2 separate regions of the Homo sapiens genome follow, and region 1 is linked to region 2. The links are contacts of gene promoters, found by promoter capture Hi-C in human tissues and cell types (Jung and others, 2019). All regions are on one chromosome and are shown on one strand. The core of a region is centred on a gene start or on the middle of the fragment in contact, and the rest is flanking DNA. Distances in the headings are between cores, read along the strand shown. Region 1 overlaps ACP4 (acid phosphatase 4). Region 2 holds the start of SPIB (Spi-B transcription factor).

What was found. The method cuts DNA at HindIII sites, captures the fragments that hold promoters and counts their contacts. A contact is called where the count stands out against the background at its distance.
Region 1: a fragment that was not itself captured here is called in contact with the fragment with the promoter of SPIB in region 2 in 1 of the 25 tissues and cell types used here (spleen).

What each region holds. Positions count from the first base shown.
Region 1 is chr19:50,790,545-50,797,623 of GRCh38, reverse strand. It overlaps ACP4 (acid phosphatase 4), which reads right to left. Exons shown (of 11, transcript NM_033068.3): 2 at 6,926-7,030; 3 at 6,764-6,850; 4 at 5,822-5,968; 5 at 5,453-5,551; 6 at 5,287-5,382; 7 at 3,808-3,940; 8 at 3,654-3,736; 9 at 3,043-3,167; 10 at 2,660-2,838; 11 at 2,405-2,581. The coding sequence ends at 2,466. LOC105372439 (a long non-coding RNA gene) reads left to right here and starts at 4,326. Exons shown (of 4, transcript XR_936026.3): 1 at 4,326-4,659; 2 at 5,120-5,219. RefSeq lists enhancers at 520-639, 3,060-3,189, 3,280-3,339 and silencers at 2,220-2,279, 2,530-2,589. The HindIII fragment of the contact is 9,212 bases long and covers 1-6,859 here.
Region 2 is chr19:50,416,772-50,423,585 of GRCh38, reverse strand. It overlaps SPIB (Spi-B transcription factor), which reads right to left and starts at 4,648. Exons shown (of 6, transcript NM_003121.5): 1 at 4,601-4,648; 2 at 3,613-3,640; 3 at 1,041-1,113; 4 at 549-763. The coding sequence starts at 4,623. It overlaps POLD1 (DNA polymerase delta 1, catalytic subunit), which reads right to left. Exons shown (of 27, transcript NM_002691.4): 25 at 6,489-6,541; 26 at 6,317-6,414; 27 at 5,572-5,744. The coding sequence ends at 5,639. RefSeq lists an enhancer at 3,752-3,801 and silencers at 5,341-5,509, 5,792-5,851, 5,882-6,021. The HindIII fragment of the contact is 45,060 bases long and covers 1-6,814 here.

The sequences.
Region 1 (7,079 bases), core at 1,004-3,503, 380 kb before region 2:
CAATCTCAGCTCACTGTAACCGCCACCTCCTGGGTCCAGGTGATTCTCCTGCCTCAGCCTCCGGAGTAGCTGGGATTACAGGCACCTGCCACCACGCCTGGCTAGTTTTGTATTTTCAGTAGAGATGAGGTTTCACCATTGTTGGCCATGGTGGTCTCAAACTTATGACCTCAGGTGATCCGCCCACCTCGGCCTCCCAAAGTGCTGGGATTACAGGTGTGAGCCACCATGCCTGGCCTGTCACGGGTTTTCTCTTAAGGTCTCTGTTGCTATGCCTTCTCTGAAAGCGTGCATTGGCTGTGTGCTGTGGGCAGCCAGTCCCTTCTGATGGGTCTGCTTTTGCTGTGTGTGGCTTCTGTGTTGGTCTGGGTTTAGGGTGTGCTGGGGCCGGAATCTCAGGTGACAGCTCTGTGAGGACTCACTGAGCCCTAGCAGTTCTGACCTCACAGCTGAGGCCTTGGGCACAGGGGCCCCTGTTAAACAGCGGACAGAACACTCCAAACTCTGGTGCTTCATCCTCTGTGGGTTCAGCTGCTGAGCTGCGTCCAGGGGGAGCCACCCAGGCCTCTGCCCACTAGCAGGCCCCCAGCTCTGAACAGGTCCTTCCAGCAGGCTGCTGGGAAAGGGTGGGCTCTTGCCACCAGGTGGGAGTTGGTCACAGCCACAGGTAACCCCACCTGGCACTTGGGGTCTCCATGAACCTGCAAGGAAGCCAGGCTCCCTCCCAGGGCCAGAAAGTGTGAGGGGTGTTCATTCCTCAGCCTTCCCAGGGTCGTGGCTCCTGGCATCCATCTGGGGTGGCCCATGACCACCCAGCTCCTCTAGGGAATGCCGGGTAGGGCAGTGAGGCAGGTCTGGGGACTCCCCAGGGATGAGTCTGCATGAGAGGCTGCCCTCAGCACCCTGGGAAGAAATGGGCTAGGGCAGTATGCAGGTGGCCCTTGTGTGGAGGAAGGGTTGTCCCAGCTTCCACTCCCTGGCGTTTCTGGATCCTGTGCCTTTTTTAGGTCCTGGGTCACTGGGAATGGCTTTGAACCTTTCTCCGACTGCCCCATCTAATGGGGGCCAAGTGGCTGTTATTAAGCATCCACTGTACCAGGGCTCCCTACGGGTTCCCTGGTTAGACAGTGCCACACAGCCATGGGTGTGGGGCAAGGCCTGGGAGGGGCGGGCGCTCTGCTCTAGGCCACACTATGGGAGCCTCCCCTTGGGGGGCCAGGGGCTCAAAGGGCACCCGTGCAGGTGCTCCACAGCGCCTGCTGCTGCATGAGTGTGGGAGGAGTAGCTCTCATCAGCATCTGAGAAATGATTGCAGTGGTGGATGTGTGGCCCATGTGATGGTTGGGAGCTGAACACTCCATTTTATTTAACCTAAATTTAAATAGCCATACATGGTCATGGCTACTGTATTGGCCAGCGCCTCCACATTACTTGTAGCAGTTACAGTGCACAGCCGAGAGTGTCATCGGTTTTCCCTGCTCTCTACCTGTCCCTAGGAAGTTAATTTTTGGAGTTGTGGAGTCCACTGGGTTAGAGTCGTGGTTCTGCCAAGTGAGACACATCAGGGCCTATCACTTGCCCAGAGGCGCACAGCCTCGGAAACCAGGCTTTGAATCGTGCACCTTTCTCAGGTCTGCTGCCAGATCCCTCTGACTCTACCCAAGTTCATGGTTGCATTGAGAGCTATGGAGGTCACCAAATAACCAGACTTGAGGGTCCAACTCCTGTGAGCCTGGTCTCCACAGAGCACATGGTCCACATTGAGGCTCACTGAGTAAGGCCTTGTCACAAGCTGCAAGTGGAGGTACGTACAGGGTCCACCATGTCCTCAGCCAGCCTACCTGCTTCCAGTGCTCATATGGAAAGGTGCATAAACATACCACCTGGGTGTGGTGGCTCACACCTGTAATCCCAGTGCTTTGGGAGGCCATGGCAGGAGGATTGCTTGAGGCCAGGAATTTGAGACCAACCTGGCCAACATACCAAGAAAACAAAATTAACCAGGCATTGTGCACGCCTGTAGAAGCTGAAACAGGAGGGTCACTTGAGACAGGAGTTCAAAGCTGCAGTGAGCTATGCTCATGCCAGTACTCCAGCCTGGGCCACAAAGACCTTGTCTCTACAAGAAAAGTGCCATGCAGGCATGCCTGCTTGTTCAGACATGGGTACATTTGTGCTTGAATGTGTGTCACAGACATGTTTTTTACCAGCATGTACGTACAGACCACCTGTGCACGCGTCTAAGTGCAGAAACTGTTCACACATGTGACACGTATGCATGCACACTCATGCCACCGTCACACAGACACATGCACACACAAACTAGTTTCCAGGCCGGAGACTCCACACAGCCCTCGCTCCCCATGCACACAGGCGCACAGTAAGTCACAGAAGCCAGAGCAGCTACTGAGCATACATGTTGGGGTCCAGTGTCAGCTGGGGGTAGGGAAGCCCTGGTTTCTGGCTCACACGGGGCCCCCCAAGGCCCGCAGGCACCCTGGTCTCCAGGCCAGCAGGCCCAGCCCCAAGCTGAGTGCCACCAGCACAGCTACAGCTCCGGCCAGCAGGGGCACCACTGGAGCTGCAGGGAGAACACGCGGGGGGTGAGTGCCAGGACTTGGCAACCCTCCACTCCCACCCCAACACAGAGGACTGTCACCTGGGGGGATGGCAGCCTCATAGGGGCCATGGCAGGAGACCCCATGGGCGGGAGGCCGGGCCGGGGCAGTCAGCTGGTAGAAGCGGCCTAGTGGACAGGGGGCCGGGCACCCGGGGAGGCTGAGAGGCAGGGGCAGGTGGGCGGAGTCATTGCGGTAGAAGAGGGAGACGGTGACATTCCTGGAGAGAGAGGACATGGTGGCACCTCCTCCCTCCTGTCATTGATCTTAAAGCCTGGAGAAAAGGGCTTCTGACTCCCACCTGTCATCCTCCCAGCATCATCCCATGCAGCTCCCCACCTGGCCATGCCCTCTGCCTGACACATCACCCCTTGCTTTGAGAGTTCTGTCCCACCCATGTCCCTGGGCACCAAACCATTCTCACCCTCCATCTTTGGCGGGATTCCCCAGGTGCTTCCGGAACTCAAAGCCGAGGCAGGCAGCATATGGCGGGGTGTGTCCATCATAGAGGCCCAGGGCCCCCTGGAGGGCCAGCAGGGTGCTGTCATGCTGCAGGTGGACCCGAGGGCTGAGACGGCACTTCTCTCTGGAGGCCTTTCTCCTGAGCACTACACTTGCGCATCCAGATGTCCCCCAGGCTTCTTAGAACCAACCCCCCAAAGCTACTCCTTCCTCCCATCCTGAAGGCAGTACCAACATTTGCAGGCGGCCACTTAATAAAGATTGCTCAAGTAGGTGCAAAATATGATTGGACTAAGCAGCCTTTCTCCTCCGGAAGGACAGACTGCTTAGTCCAATCATAGTTTCTTAAAGAAAACAAGGAATTATATTTATTCATAAATTCTTCCTCCCATAACACCGTCACCTCCCTCTTTCCAGACTAATGGTAGAGCCTGAGAGTAGGGTTTGGAGATACGGGTTACCCCAGGCAGTGGGCTGAGATCCACTGGGACCACAGGCTCTTCCTCACCTAAATCGCTGTCACCCTCATCCCTGTGCCTCAGTGCCATGTGGCACTGCTTCCCAAGGACTCACAGCTGAGTACATGACCATCTTGAGGGGCAGCCCCAGGCGCTGGACCCGGGAGAAGTTTGCAAGGATAGCATTCAGCAGGATCCCTGAGGATGGGAAAAAAGAGCTTAGACTCTCCCAGAGGAAGGCACCCCAGCCTCCCAGACCCACACCTCACCCCCTGTCAGCTGGGCCTTCTCTGCTGCCCGGGGTGGGCCCACGTGGGCTCCAATATCCAAAGCCGAGATCTGGGCAAGAGTCCGCAGGACATCTGGGGAGGCCCAGGCTGGTAGTGGAAGACCGTGGGCTTGCTGTGGGGAGACAGGACAGATGGACCATCCTGAGCCCTCGAGTTTGCCTCTGGCCCCGCAGGCCTGTGCTGCCCCCTGCTCTTCTGAGTCCCCCCATGGGCCGGATCTGGATCTGGCTGGGAAATCATGATGTGGATAACAGTGTTTTTTTGTTGTTGTTTTTTGTTTTGAAACGGAGCCTTGCTCCATCACCTAGGCTGGAGTGCAGTAGCGCAATCTTGGCTGTCTGCAACCCTTGCCTCTCGGGTTCAGGTGATTCTCCTGCCTCAGCCTCCCAAGTAGCTGTGATTACAAGTGTGTGCCACCATTCCTGGCTAATTTTTTTTTTTTATTTTTAGTAGAGACGGGGTTTTACCGTGTTGGTCAGACTGGTCTGAAACTCCTGACCTCAGGTGATCTGCCCACCTCAGCCTCTCAAAGTGGTGGGATTACAGGTGTGAGCCACCACACCCAGCCAACAGCGATTATTAGTTAATAATAGACATCGTCATTACACAGCCCAGAAGGCTTTATCTGAAACCCCTGGGGCCAGAGGTATTTCACAGCTCAGACATTCTGGACTTTAGAAAGGTCTGATGGTGCTGACACCACACAGCATGGAACACACACAGCAAGGGCCGGGGCAGCCCCCTTAGTCACACACATCACTGCTCCCACCCTGCGATTCAGAACATTCCCGTGAGCTGGAGTGAGCAAAGACTAGCAAGAGTACTAGCTGGGTATGGTGGCTCACGCCTGTAATCCCAGCTCTTGGGGAGGCGAAAGGATTGTTTGAGCCCAGGAGTTCCTGGGCAACATAGACCCCATCTCTGCAAAAAATTAATTTTTTTTTAATTAGCCAGGCATGATGGTGTGCCCCTGCCTGCCTCAGCTACTTGGGAGGCTGAGGCAGGAGAATTCCTATAGCCAGGGAGATGGAGGCTGCAGTGAGCTATGATAATGCCATTGCACTCCAGCCTGGGTGACAGAGTGAGATCCTGTCTCCAAAAAAAAAAAAAAAAAAAAAAGCATTGCATCATTTCAGGTCAGCTCCCGCTGCCCAGGTTTTGGGTTTTCTGATTATAGGACTGTGGGGAGGAGTTGCCAAATGTGTAGCCTCAAACCCTGGCAAGGCCCTCACTGTACACCAGGCACTATTGTAAGCACAGTGCGTGGATTAACCCATTTGAATCCTCACAGCGTCCTGGGGAGGTGTTGATACCGGTGTTGCCATCCCCACTGTGCAGATGGGAAAACTGAGGCACAGAGGATTAACTACATGCCTGAGGGAACACAGCTAGTGAGTAGCAAGCTGGGATTGGAAACAGGTGTCCTTAAACCCTTGGCTGGGAAGGGGCAGGGCTCACCTGGCACATGAGGGTGTCCAGAACCTTCCATGCCCTGCGCAGTGGCTCTCCAACCAGCGACAGTCCCGTGAAGTTCTCCAGGCGACTCAGGAAGCCCTGGATGCGCGGGGCTGGGTGAGCCCAGGCCCATCCCCTGCATCCCGCCCCCCACCGCCGCCCTGCTCACCGTCCAGCCCTCCAGGGCCTCCTGGTACTCGGCGGCCTCGGTGGCCTCCCGCAGCAGCTCGTGGTATCGGGGACAGCTGCGCATGGGGAACCTCAGCAGCTGGGGAAAACTGAGTCTCAGAGAGGACAGCCGTGTGCCTTGCCTTGGGTCTCACAGCGGGTCGGGGGAACCCGGGCTCTCGGCCCCTGCGTCTTTGTCGCAGTTTCTCCCAGATCCAGGAGAGCAGCGTGGGCCGGGGCTCACCCTGGTCTGGACAGACCAGCTCGAGGACAGTCTTGCTTCTCGGAGCCAGCTCAGGCGGCCAGACCCAGAGCTGCCTCTCTCTCCACCCGCTCCCTCCCTCGCCACACGTGGGTCCAGCCCCCTGACCTTATCCTCAGCCACGGGCACCGTGTGCACCGGGATCGGCCTCCAGCGGGCCTCGGGGCTCCCTGGAGCAGCCTCGGGAAACAGCCCGGCAAGGTTGGCCTGGGCACTCTCCAGCGTGCGGTCAAAGTCCGTGCTGCGGATGTACACCTGGAGCGGGGTGGAGAGAGGGCACGCGGGGGGTCGTGGTTGGGGACAGAGGTCAGCTGTCGTGGCAAATCAGAAGCCTCAGATTCACTTTGGAGTAGGGGTCAGACACTGAGAATCATGTGGCCTTCGAAGTTGGAAGTTGGGATCAAGGGTCCAGAGGCTAATGTCAGGAGCAGTTGGGCTGGACGTCCTAAGCTGGACAGCCATGTTGGATTTAGGGGGTCAATTGAGTCAATGAGGGTCAAAAAGGAAGATCAGAATCAGTAGAGGCTGGAGGTTAGAGGTCAAGTTTAGGAGGGCAGCTTGGAGGACTTGGAGTCAGAGTTCAATACATGTTCTTCAGAGGTTAGGAGGACTGTCTGTAGCTGGGGGATGTCAGAAGACATAGGAGGAGACAGAAAAGGTAGGTCAGAATTGATAAAGCGTAGAGGTTAAAGGTTAGAGGTCAAGAGGGCAAGTTACGTCAACAAGGGTCAAAGATCGAAATCAAGTTTGGGGTCAAATGTCAGAGGCCAGAGGTCTGACTGGAGTCAATGGGACTTAGAAAACAGAGATGGAGGCCAGAAAATAAAGTCAGAGTTGATGGAGGTCAGAGGTCGAGATGTGACAGGTTGAGATGGGGTCAGAAGTCAGTGTGGGTTAGTCAGTGTATCGGGGGTCAGAGATTAGAGGTAGAGGGCAAGTCAGGTTGATGGAGGTCAAAGGCCAGAGGTGGAGGCCCAAAGAGAGCGTTGTAGTCAGTGGAGGTCACAGGTGGGAGGTCAGGGGGCCAGGTGGGGGTCACTATGGCCCTACCTCCTCCCGCCGGTACTCCGGACTCAGGAAGGCCTCGTAGCGGCTCCTCAGGAAGCGGCCCAGCTCCAGCTGCTGGCGGACCCCCTCCTGGGGACAGAACAGCCTCAGCCTACCACTCCCCACCCCTCCCACCCTTGCCCTCACCGCCTACCCGCTTCTCACCGTGGTCAGCTGGCCCAGGCCTCGTGGCCACAGGGTGGAGGCCACCTCCTTGTGTGGGTCCATGGGGTAGGAGGCCAGCGGGGCCCGGTCGCCATGGCGGAATACCTGGGGACAGGACTGGTCAGGGCTAGCCCTGGGGGAGCTAAGGGCAGGC
Region 2 (6,814 bases), core at 3,399-5,898:
CCTGCATGTCCAGGGACCCCTTGTCTCCCTCCACTTCCTCCTCTCAGGCCAAGGCGGTGGCCCTCCTGGCTCTGGTCTCCCTCTTTGTTGACAGCCTAGATTTTGGCCTTTGTTCAGATCACCACGCTGTGGCCAGGGGACACCTGAGGTACCTCCTCAAAGCCGGCCCAACACAGGTAATGCGAGTCTGCCCTGTCCCTGGCTTCCTGTCACTACCTCTCTTGACTCACTTGTTCAGAGGGGCAACAACGGAACGTAACCTGGGAGGCCGCTGCAGGGCTTACTATGTGCAGTCTCAATGCAGTGCCCGGCACCCAGCAAACCTCAACCAAATGACTGAGCTTGAGTTTTCTTTTCTTTTTCTTTTTTTTTTTTTTTTTTGAGACAGGGTCTTGCTCTGTTGCCCAGACTGGAGTGCAGTGGATTGCCTCGACCTTCTGGGCTCAAGCAATCCTCCTCCCACCTCAGCCTCTCAAGCAGCTGGGATTACAGGCGTGCACCACCACACCTGGTTTGGGCTTGATTTTAACTGTCCCCTTACCACTCACCTGGCTAGCGAAGTTCTCCGTGGGGTATGCAGGGAGGCCAGGCCCCGGGGCCTCCAGGCTGGGGGCCAGTTCGAGGTTCCCTGCAGGGCTGTAGGTGGGGGGTTCGTAGCAGAGCTGGGCAGCCTGGGGGTGGCTAAAAGCGGCTGCTGCCGGGTCGAAGGCTTCATAGGGGGTGGCTGGGACAGGTGGGGCCACAGTCCAGTCCCACAGGGAGTCTGGGGGAAGGGCACTGAGTCAGAAGCTGGGATGTCTCACGGAGGCCTCCTCGCAGTCGAAGCCCCCAGCACAGAGAGGCCATTGTAGGCTGTGCAAATCTCTGACCCCAGGATTTGCATGGAGGAGCGGATGGGTAGGAGAGGAAAGGGGAGGAGGGCTATAGGCCCGGGCCACCTTTATCCTGTTGTGCTAGGAAATGACCTCCCCTGGGCCTCAGCTCCCCTATCTGTGAAATGGGCCCCAAGGCAGGAAGGGCACAGGGCTGGGGTCACTCACCAGGAGCCCCCTCTGAATCAGGGTAGCTGGAATGCTTGCAGCTGTCCAGGTCATAGAAGACGCCATCTGGGTACTGATACGGGGTGCAGGAGGGAAGAGGGGTCATCCCAGGCCTTGGGGACTCCCAACCCCCACCCTGGACCCTTGGGGAGACTCCAACACAGACATGGGAGAGAAGAGGGGATGCTGGAGAGATTAGAGCAACAAAGAAACACAGAGACTAGGCATCAGAGACAGGGACAAAGAGACAGAGATACAGAGAGTAGAGACACAACCCAATAGGGGCACACAGCAGCCAGCTCCTGCTAAGACGGTGGGCTCCCAAGAACCCTGGCCCCTCACTGGCACACAGTCAGCGAATCAGGGCGCCTGGAGAAGGGGTGGAAGAACTCCCCCAGCCTTGCCTGCCTGGGGGCTCCGGAGGTGAAGGGCAAGGGGAAATGGAAGTGTTTCACTTAACAGAGGCAGGGGTCAATGCTTTTTAAATACACCTCCAGGCCAGGCGTGGTGGCTCACGCCTGTCATCCCAACACTTTGGGGGGCCGAGGCGGGCAGATCACCTGAGGTCAGGAGTTCAAGACCAGTCTAGCCAACATGGTGAAATCCCGTCTCTACTAAAAATACAAAAATTAGCTAGGCGTGGTGGCGCACGCCTGTAATCCTAGCACTTTGGGAGGCTGAGGCCAGTGAATCACCTGAGGTCAGGAGTTCGAGACCAGCCTGCACAACATGGGGAAACCCCATCTCTACTGAAAATACAAAAATTAGCTGGGCCTGGTGGCAGATGTCTGTAATCCCAGCTACTCTGGAGGCCGAGGCAGGAGAATCGCTTGAACCTGGGAGGTGGAGGTTGCAGTGAGCTGAGATCGCGCCACTGCACTCCAGCCTGGGTGACAGAGTGAGACTCTGTCTCGAAAAATAAATAGGCCGGGCATGGTGGCTCATGCCTGTAATCCCAGCACTTTGGAAGGCCAAGGCAGGCAGATCATGAGGTCAGGAGATCGATACCAGCCTGGCCAACATGGTGAAACCCCGTCTCTACTAAAAATACAAAAATTAGCCAGGCATGGTGGTGCGCACCTGTAGTCCCAGCTACTTGGGAGGCTGAGGCAGGAGAATCGCTTGAACCCAGGAGGCTGAGGTTGCAGTGAGCCGAGATCGCACCACTGTACTCCAGCCCGGCGACAGAGCAAAACTCTGTCTCAATAAATAAATAAATAAATAAATCTCCATATGTTGATTCGCCCCATGAATCATGTGTTGTTGCTTCAAGAACTCGAGTCTAGGAAAAACTAAAGCTAGATCCACACCATGCCTAGGACCTGGCAGTCTCACTCCTTGGCATTTAATCAAGAGAACTGAAAATGGATGTGCACAAAATAGCCTTGTTCCAGAATCATCCCAGCAGCTTTATTATGAGTCTCCAACTGGAAACAGCCCAGGTGTCATCAACAGAAGAAGGGATAAACAGACTGTGGTGTGGGCTGATCATAGATAGAGTACTATACAGCAAGGAAAAAGGACAAACACTGACACACACTTCATGTTGAGTGAGGGAAGCCAGACCCCAAAAGGGACATGCTGTATGACTCACTTTACATAAAGTTCAAAAGCAGGCAGCTGGGTGCGGTGGCTCACGCCTGTAATCCCAGCAATTTGGGAGGCTGAGGTGGGAGGATCACTTGAGCTCAGGAGTTTGAAACCAGCCCGGATAACATGGTGAAACCCTGCCTCTACTAAAAATACAAAAATTAGCTGGGCATGGTGGCACATGCCTGTAATCCCAGCTACTTGGGAGGCTGAGGCAGGAGAATTGCTTGAACCCGGGAGGTGGAGCTTGCAGTGAGCCAAGACGCTGCCACTGCACTCCAGCCTGGGTGACAGAGCGAGACTCCTTCTCAAAAAGCAAAACAAAAAAAAGAGCAGGCAAAACAAATTACAAATTGGTGGCGGAAAATATCAGAGAAAGGTATTGACTGAGAAGGGACAGGAAGGAATATTTCAGAGATTGAAATGTTCGGTATCTTGATCTGGCTTGTGGCTACACGGTGTATAGATAATGCAAAAACACAAGATTTGTCACTTTACTGACTTGTTAGTTACACTTCAATTAAAAAACAAACAAACAAAAACAAACAAAAAAAACATGGCTGGGGTGTGAATGTGGAGGGGCATAAACAGGGGCTTTCTTTCAACCACATCAGTAAGATTTGATTACTCAGACTGGATTGTGGGTTCAAGGGTGTTGGGTATAGTATTCCGTATCTGAACTGTTAGAGAACACAATTTTTAAAAATACGAACAAAAAGAAGGAAAGGAACATGAAAATACATTGTCTGAATATGGGATGGGCAGAGAGAGATACAAAGCCACAAGGAAGTGGATTCAAGCCTGAGAGGGGGAGAGAGACATCAAAAATACGGATGCGGGGTAGCAGGAGATACCAAGGGGGAGCTCAGAAACAAAGTGACAGGAAGAGGTGGGAGGGGAAACTGAGGCAGGAAGCAAATGACTTCTCTGAGGGAGGTCACTGTGGGCCACCCCTCCCTGGCCCCCAGGGGCCCCAACTCACCAGACAGCTGAAGTGTGGCCCGTCGAGCCTGGAGGGGGAGAGACACAGGGGCATGCTGAGGCTGCCTCCAGCCACCTGAATCTCAAAGTGGTTGGGGGCTGATGGGGAGGCGGCAGCAGCTGTGACCACCGCAGCCCTGTGTGAGGGACCAGCCCCACCACATTCACCGGACTCCCCCACTACCCCCTGCTGGGACAGGAAGTGGGGGGTGGGGGGGAGGCAAATGTCCCCCTCCTCCCCAGAATTTGCATAGACACCCTGGTGGGGAGGGGCAGGGAAAGTGAGGGAGAGAAAGTCCCGGAAAGGAGGTGTGGGGATGGAGAGGGGGCCTGGGTCAAGTGCGGCCTTGGTGGCGAGTCAGTTGAGTCCAGCTTGGACCAGAGGAGAAGGATGGAGAGATGTCTGGGTAGAGAGGGGGAAGCCCGGAGAAGACTCAGATGAGGAGGCTCAAGGAGAGGTGGGACACAGAGAAAGGTGTGCAAAGGGACATTCACGCACAGAGGCGGGGAGGATTCCTGGAGCCCCAGATGGAGGCACTGAGAGTGAGGGTGAGGCAGAAGGAGACCAAAAGGCAGGGAGAGCGAGAACTGGAGACAGAGACACAGAGACAGGCAGAGAGACAGAGAGCAACAGGCAGAATGTTGAGAGCTGGGAGATGCCAGATACAGAGCGAACAGATACGGGAACTCGGGGAGACAGGAGGATGGACAGAGTGAGAGCCACGGAGGACGCCCGCAGGAGGGCACGCTAGCAAGTGTTCTGGGGAAATGAGATCTTTGGGGACCAGGAAAGATAGGAACTGGGGGGATGGAGAGTCCGAAGTGAAGAGGGAACAGAACCAGAAGGGGCAAGAGACAGGGTGGACCCCTCCCCTCCACTCCCACCCACCGGCCGTGAGGAGCAGAGAAACCACTGCCCATGGGTGAGGCCCCACAGAGGGGCAGTGCAGGTGGGGACCCCGGGTGCAGGTTTGGGGGCCCTCACTTACTGTGCAGCCTCCAGGGCGAGCATGGTGGTGCCGGGCGGGCTGTTTGCCGCCCGCTGCAGCCGCCAACCCTATTTATATCTTGGCCCAGCCCCTGCCGGGGGGAGGAGGGTGCCCGCTGGCCACAAGCTCGGCCCTCCTCAAAAATCCCCTCAGGGAGGGGGTCAGGGGAGGGGGCTGGATTGCACAACCCCTTTGTCACATGGCAGGGATGGCGGGCCAGGGGCTGTCTGGATTTGGGGATCCCCGTGGGGCTGGGTTTGGGGGGCTGACCTTGAGGGCTGGAGATGGGACAGGAGCTGGATTTGGGGGAACCCTGAAAACATCGAGGAAGGGCTGGGGTTCACTGAAGAGGAGAATCAGGAAACGGAGGATCTGGACCCAGGAGCCGAATTCCAGCAGGGGCGGGCTGGGGGCCGAGGGGCAAGCACAAGACTCTCCCCGGGGGATGTGTGAGGTGACGGGAGGGCCGAGGGCATCTGACGGCAGTTAGAGGCTGCGGGGATAGAGATGGGAGTCGCTGGGGGGAAACCCAGACCCAAAGCCCATTGCCAGGACCCCGACGTGGAAACATCGTGGGTGTGTGGTCCGGCGGGGGATGGGGGGGTCCCCTTGGCCGGGCTGAGGAGTGGAAGCCCCGGTGCGCCTGGGGCTGCCCCAGGGCCTGGAGGAAACAGGTCAGCACCTGGAGGGCGGGGCAGCCACCAGGGTCCCCAGGGTCATCACCAGGGAGGGCTGGGCCGGGGCCAGACACCTGGGGGCCCTAAGCAGGGCAGAGAAGCGCTGGTATAAGGGTTCCTTCAGGGCCAGAGAGGAAACTGAGGCAGGCTTGGCCCACATGAACCAGGCAGCACAGGTGGGAGTCCGGGGGCTTTTGCTGAGGATGAGGGGCGGTGCGGGCCTCAGGAGGGTCCCAGCCAAGGCCAGGGCTTATGAAACCAGACAGTGTCCCCCAGAGACCACAAAGCACCATATAGCAAAAGTCCAGAACTTTATTAATTCTCCCTGGTCCCGCCCCCGCCCCATGGGATGCTTGCAAGGTCACCAGGCCTCAGGTCCAGGGGGTCCGAAGCGCCGCAGGAGCTGCTCCTGGTCTTCCAGGTCCTTCCGCACCTTCTTGCGCATGTAGAAGATGGGGCAGTCCCGGCTGCGGGTGGGGGCAGGGGCAGGGTCAGGACCAGCCAAGGCCCAGTGCCCAGCCTGGGAGAGGGGTGGGGGCTGTTCCCAGGACTTTGGTCCCCGCCTGCTGCCCAGCCCACCCGCCCCCTCCCGCAGCGGGCTGTTTGCTCAGCAGGCACGGGGGGGGTGGGGGGGGGGAGCCGATAACAGCGGGTGCCTGGCGAGGTGCAGGGCCATGGCTGGCCGTATATCACCTGTCACCTGGCGTGGGAACCCACCCCGCCTACCCGTTCCCTGGGGAAAGCCCGGCCCCGCCCTGGGGAGGGGGCCAGGCTGGCTGGGTGTGTCGGGAGGACAGCCGTTTCCCGGGCAACACTGGGTGCCGGGCGCTGCCTCCCTAAGCACCCACCCCCTCTGGGGGGCTGGGATGGGCCCATTTTTCAGACAAGGACACTGAGGCTCAGGACAGCTCACAGCTGGAAGGGGATGGGCGGGGAGGATGCTCAGGAGAGGCCTTGGAGTCAGAGGTTGGGTCCACAACCCACAGGCCTGGGAGCTGGGAAGGGGCGGGGCAGCCCAGGGTCGGGACATGGCACACACCTGGTGCAGATGACGTCCTCGTGCAGGCTGCCCTGGCAGCGCTGGCACTGCGTCCAGAGGCGCGAGAAGCGCTCCTCCAGGGCATTCAGATGGGATACCTGGGGACGGCAGCGGCTGAGCAGGGCGCCCCCGCCTCCCCACCTGGCCCCTCCTCACCTCCCGGCCCTCTCACCTCCTTCTGATACAGCTCAGACTCCCGGGGCTGGCAGAACTCACACACGGCTCCTGTGGGGAGGCGGGTCAGCCCAAGTGCTGGGGCCCAGCCAGGAACTGGGCCACCCCATCCCTGCCCACTGCCAATCCCAGCTTCTGAAAGTCCCCAGAGGCTGGAGAACAACGGAGCAAGTGTGCTGGGAAAACTCCCCTGGGGAACTCCCGGGGTGGGGGCCGAGGACCCTCTGTGGGGGGTGGAGACAGGGGCCACCCACCCAGGGGCCCTGGGCCCACTGGGTGGCAGTGCCAGCCGATGGGGTGGGTGTCTAGGATCTGGGGTGACGG